Regions from separate parts of the Homo sapiens genome. Here region 1 is linked to region 2. Evidence: promoter capture Hi-C in 16 types of primary human blood cells and fetal thymus (Javierre and others, 2016). All regions are on one chromosome and are shown on one strand. The core of a region is centred on a gene start or on the middle of the fragment in contact, and the rest is flanking DNA. Distances in the headings are between cores, read along the strand shown. Region 1 overlaps CPED1 (cadherin like and PC-esterase domain containing 1). Region 2 holds the start of WASL (WASP like actin nucleation promoting factor).

What was found. Contacts are between HindIII fragments. The CHiCAGO score rates a contact against its expected background, and 5 or more counts as called.
Region 1: a contact is called between a fragment that was not itself captured here and the fragment with the promoter of WASL in region 2, in 1 of 17 cell types (M0 macrophages). The highest score is 9.9, in M0 macrophages.

The regions. Positions count from the first base shown.
Region 1 is chr7:120,996,371-120,999,179 of GRCh38, reverse strand. The region is part of intron 2 of CPED1 (cadherin like and PC-esterase domain containing 1); the gene reads right to left. Among named protein-coding and RNA genes, the nearest start is that of CPED1, 9.1 kb to the right of the region's middle. The HindIII fragment of the contact is 1,081 bases long and covers 969-2,049 here.
Region 2 is chr7:123,747,550-123,750,702 of GRCh38, reverse strand. WASL (WASP like actin nucleation promoting factor) reads left to right here and starts at 1,700. Exons shown (of 11, transcript NM_003941.4): 1 at 1,700-2,085. The coding sequence starts at 1,969. It overlaps WASL-DT (WASL divergent transcript), which reads right to left and starts at 1,508. Exons shown (of 1, transcript NR_170281.1): 1 at 1-1,508. RefSeq lists silencers at 1,418-1,737, 2,198-2,287 and enhancers at 1,316-1,970, 2,730-2,779. The HindIII fragment of the contact is 6,394 bases long and covers 1-3,153 here.

The DNA of each region.
Region 1 (2,809 bases), core at 260-2,759, 2.8 Mb after region 2:
TCAGCAAGAGAAAGAAAAGAGGGAGAAGGAGTTCCTCTCATATCTTGCCCTGCTCTAGAGTTGGCAAATTCAAATTCATCATTCATTTATTTATTCATTCATCGACTGAATATTTATTCAATGCTCACTATGTATCAGAGGCTGTTTTTACACTGGGGATGTAGCAGTAAGCCAATCAACTAAAGCATTTGATCTGAAGGAGCTTATATTCTGTGTAGAAAGACAATAAACCAATGAATAGATATGTTACTCAGGGTCCAAAATCTTAATCTCTTTCCTCCTATCTGCACTGAACTCACTCCTCCCCATCCCCAGCTATAACATGCTGTTCATCTCAGCATCTCAGACTTTAAAAAAAAAAAAAAGGATTCCACAAAACTGAAGACTTGCCTATAAATAAGCAAGTCTGACGTTGAGTGATATATCAGCCTCCTTAAGTTTGGTTTTGTTTCAAAAGATTCATTTTACTGTGAAAAGGCAACAGCTTAGAGGCTGGGGGATAGAGAGAGAAACTCAACAAAGCTTTCATCTCAGACATTTCTTATCCAAAGACTTATGTTGATTGCAGCAATTATTTATTGCTCACTGACTTTGTGAAGGCCAAATGTTAGGGTCTATAGGGTCCACAGAGAGGAGGGAGTCTTCAAGGAAATTAAATAATAATTATTTTCATAGTTAATATTTATTGAGTGCTTTCTATCTGCCAGACACTTTAAGTGCTTCATGTGATTTATCTCATTTAAGGATCATGTTAGCCTGGGGAGTTGGTGATAATATATCCATATTCAGGTAAGGAAACTAAATCCTAGAGAGGTCAAGAAATGTGCCCAAGGTAACAAGTTAATAAATGGTATTAATTTGAATGCAGTGTTCATGTACTTAACTATTCTGCCTTCCCAAATTTATTAGTTTCCTAGAGCTGCTGTAACAAAGTATTCGAAGCTGGATAGTTTAAAACAAGAGAAGCTTGCTTACTAAATCTCGTAATTCTGGAGGCTAGAAGCCTGAAATAACAGTGTCAGCAGTTCCTCTGAAACTTGTGGTGGAATCCTTCCTTGACTGTCGAGTTTCCGGGGGTTTGCCGCAATCTTTGGTGTCCTTCAGTGTGCAGCTGCATGACTCCAATCTCTGCCTTCAACATTACATGGCATTCTCCCTGTGTGTCTCTGTCTTCCTATGCTGTCCTCTTCTTTTTATTTTTTATTTTATTTTATTTTATTTTATTTTATTTTATTTTATTTTATTTTATTTTTTTTCGAGACCGAGTTTTGCTCTTGTTACCCAGGCTGGAGTGCAGTGGCACAATCTCAGCTCACTGCAACCTCTGCCTCCTGGGTTCAAGTGATTCTCTTGTCTCAGTCTACTGAGTAGCTGGAATTACAGGTGCCCGCCACCATGCCCAGCTAGTTTTTTGTATTTTTAGTAAAGACAGGGTTTCACCATGTTGGCCAGGCTGGTCTCAAACTCCTGACCTCAGGTGATCCACCCACCTTGGCCTTCCAAAGTGCTGGGATTGCAGGTGTGAGCCACCACGCCCCATCTACTGCCTTCCTATAACACCAGTCATATTGGATTAGGGGCCACCTTACTCCAGTGTGACCTCATCCTAACTAATTATATCTGCGATAACCCTATTTCCAAGTAAGGTCACATTCTGAGGTACTGGAGTTTAGGGCTTCAACATATCTTTTCAGGGATGGGGTACACAATTTAACCCATAATACCAATGAATGGAGTTAGCATATGGGGCTATAATAAAATAGAAAGGACATAGGTCTCAGTCCAGTCCTGTCCACACTATCAACTTGTTATGTTACTTTGAGAGAGCCACTTTCTTTCTGTGACCTTCTTTCTCTTCACTTAAAAAAGAAAGATGTTGAACTTAATCATCTCTAACTTATTTGCAGTTCTAACATTCTAATGTTCCTTCATTTATAAATAGTTACAATGAAACATAAGTTTTATTAGGGATGTTTAAGCACACATCCACTTATGGAGATAAGGGCTGCTATAATGAAGGAAGTGAAACTCCATAGGTTCTCAAAAGCTTTAAGAATGATCATGAAGATTTCTAGAGGTATTGAGTAGAGCAGGCTCCCTGGAGGAGACTCCTGACAGAAGGAGAGATGTGGGAGTTTAGAAAATAGGCAGGCTGTTGGGTGGATTATGGATTATGGATTACACATAGAGACAGGGTAGAGATAAGGCTGGAAAAGTATGTTGGAACATGCCAGGATCAGTGTGGTTTCTACTCAATTGAGTGCGCTCAACGTTACAACTCCTGAAAGCTTTCAGCAGAGGTATTAATGGGACCTGTGCACAGACTGCCTAGAATATGCAGGCAGATGGAGGGGTAACTGGTTAAACCACTGAATGAGTCTAGGTTAGTGACAACAAGGACACAGCATTGAGATTGTGAAGATAGATGCTAAGATTTTGGAATCTGATGAACTCTTATCTGAATTAATTTGGAGGACTAGAGAAAATTCCACTTTACATAGCCATAAGGGCTGTGCTCATGTGATATTTACTAAAATTATAATAGTATAATAAAGGGCTAAATGCACAGCATGGTCCCAGAGAGAAATTAGAAGTTAGAGCTAAAAAAGGAGCACCATGTCTACAGGCAATATATAAACCACAAGGAGGAAATCCAGATCTGGGCCAGATGCCAAGGAGAAGAGGAAGCAACATGCAAGCTGGTTGAGACTAATGTTTCTGAATAAGGGCTGTGAACAAGGCAAGAATATTTTGGACTTTGCACAACAATGTAAATATGATTAATACTACTTAACTGTATACTCACAAA
Region 2 (3,153 bases), core at 451-2,950:
GTAATTGTGTATTTTACAACTTTGAAGTAGGTGTAATTATCCCTATTTAGACTATACCTGTATGAAACAGAAATTATTTTCATTTTACAGATGAGGAAACAGACGCAGAGAAGTAATTTGTCCAAAGTCCATAGGGTTGTAAGACTCATAACAAGAACTACAACTTGGGCCTATCTGAATCTTATACTTCTGGTACTATACTTGTTCACAGGTTTGAAAAGAGCTTTAATTTCTATTATTTCTCAAGAATTTGTAATGCTTTCTCTTGTCACTGTGCTTTCAACTTAGAGGAGTTGCAGTTTTGATAAAAGACAAACTGATTTAGCTTCTAGGTTTGTTAAATATGTAATTCAGAGGCAACTCCAGGCTTATATTTCTACGACTGCTTTCTAAATCTAATTATTTTATAAATAGTCCTGTTGCTTTAATTCACTTTTTACCCTAACATAATTAATCAAGTTTAACTTTGAAATCTCCATATTTTATGTGAGAACTCCCAAGGCTATCCACTTTTATTTTCCTTTGTAAATTTATTGTTGCTCAGCCTATTTCATTAATGGCAGCTTTAATTATAATATTTTATTATATTTTCAAAGTGCATGATAATGGTTTACCAGTCTGGTTAGTACATCAGAGATTTCTATTGGGAGCTATCAGAGATGTTAACATCCAACAATTTTACCAAAGTGTAATTGTTATAGACGTCTTAACATGAATTTACGCAACAAAAATATGTTTAATGTGGAGAACAGTGAGATGCATATTTGATAATTCACTGCAGTCTGCATCATCATCTCTATATTCCAAAATTTCGTCTTAAGCCGTTTAGTATTTAACTTACAGAAGAAAGGGGGTTATCTTAGATAACTTTTAATATCCTAAGGTATTTTCCAATTCACGATACAGGGAGAAAAGAAATGTGTCCAGGCCCTTAGAAGAAAATACTTTGAATTTAAATGTGACACATACATTAAACCCGCGTGACACGCCAGGCAGGCGGTGGAAGTCAAGTGCATTTGTTTTTGTTTCATCCACCAGGGCGATCTCTTTCACAATTCTGGGAGAGGCCTGTTTGTTCCTCCACTCCCACAGCTGAAGTTTGGGACAAAGTTTGAGAAAATCCCAGGCACCTGCGGCTCCTATCGAAGCCGGCGAGGAGCACAGGGTAGAGCGTCTCTTCCCAGTTTTCAGTCTTCAGATCGCAGGCCTCTCGGACCCGCAGAGCGAGCTTCACGCTGCAGCGCTTGAGAAATAAGAGCTATTCCAAGGAGGGGCCCTGGGTCCTCACTGACGCTTCGCAAAGGTGTACGTCCGCCCAGGGAAGGCCGGCGGCGCAGCGACGGCGAGGAGTCCCCATCCATCTTCTCTTCAAGCAGCAGTAGCTGGGTTCGGGTACCCAACCGACGAGCCGAGACGCCAGAGGCCAGAGTACGAAGTTGGAAGCCTGCGCCCCAAGCCAACCGGGATTCCACTTAGCTCCGCGCGGTCCGCGCCTCGGCCGGAAGGGGGCGTGGCTTCGGGCCCGCGCCGCGAGGCCCGCCGCCGAGTGGGGGGGTTTCTCCCGGGCCGCAGCCGCGCGTTTCCGGCGCGCTCCCCCGCGCCCTCCGTCCTGTGGTCTCGCCCGCCCCCGCTGCCATGTTGGATTGTGCGGCCGCCGCCGCCGCTGCGGGAGGGTTGGGGGAGGAGTTGGGAGTTTAGCGCAGTCGCCGGAGTGCGAGGACAACGACCATCCGGCCCTAGCCTGGCCGGGCGGGTGCCGGGAGCTTCCCTTTCTCAGCGCGGCGCGAAGGTGGCTCGCCGTCAGCGCCTGCTTCCCTCGACCTCGTCCTCCTCCCCGCTCCGGAGGAGCTGCGAGATGTGGCGCCTCTGACTCCACTTCTCCCCGCCCCTGTCACCGAGAGGGGGAACGAGCTCTCGCCCACTCGCCGGAGGAGACGGCCCTGGACTCCCAACCCCGCCGGCGAAACCATGAGCTCCGTCCAGCAGCAGCCGCCGCCGCCGCGGAGGGTCACCAACGTGGGGTCCCTGTTGCTCACCCCGCAGGAGAACGAGTCCCTCTTCACTTTCCTCGGCAAGAAATGTGTGGTCAGTGGACGAGACCCGCGTCGCCACCCGTGACATTACCTCACGGGCCCGGGCTTGGGGGCCGGGAAGTGGGAGTGGGGAAGGAGGCGGGAGCGGCGCGGGCCAGGCCTCCCGCCAGCCCCGGCCCCGGCCCCGGCCCCTCGTCGGCGCCCTCGCCCTGCTCCCAGGGTGCGGGCCGTGGCGGTCGGGCGCCGCCTTCCCGAGCTGCTGGAGAATAAGGGAGTGTCACCTCCGCAGGCCTGTCCTCCAGCCTGGCCGGGCCTCGGCCCGCGCCCTTGCTGCTGGTTAAAACTTTATTCTCAGGCCACAAGGGGATTTTCTTGCAAGAGCCGCTTGGTCCTAGAATCTGGGCCCTTGTTCTAGCTCTCGCTTCACCTCTTACTGCTTGATCTGGGGGTACGTTCCTTAACAATGCCAGGTTTGAGGAGTGGATAGGTCGGGGAAGGAAGGTGGTTTTTAATCTCCCATTAGGATTCCAGGAGGGAATGAAGTCGAGTGCAAGAGCCTGGGCTCTCTTCGGATTAGAGAGGGTGCAAGAAATGTTATTGCTCTTCGTTAAAGAGAAACAAGATTTATTTCTCTAGCAACCTTGCCTAGGCCTGGTTTCTACTCTCCTTCCCACTGATTTTTTTTTTCCCCCCATTGGTGGGAGGGGGTGCTGCTCTCCCCGCAGCCATGCGCAGGGAAACCTCAATCTCTGGTAGCTCTTGGCTTTTGGGGCCGAGAATGATTCTTAGTTTGGTGCTGTGCGGCCAATTCCAACCCCAGATGGCCGGTTGGGAGCGAGCAGTTCTGCTGTGGGAAGGGGAATGTGTGTTGTTGACGGAAGCATTCATTACATTGGCTGCTGGCAATTCTGGGGGTGGGGAGGTTCTGCTCTGTGGTGTAGGCCTTGTCGGGATCATACTGCGGTGACTGGGTTGAAGTGTGGTTTGTTGAAATACTGGCTGGATCCCTTTCTCTCCACTTTGCTAGCACCTGCAGAGTATGTGCCACTGGAACCCAGAAAACACGGAAATTTCAACAAAGCAATACCATTTTATAACTCCTTTAAGTAATATTAGGTAT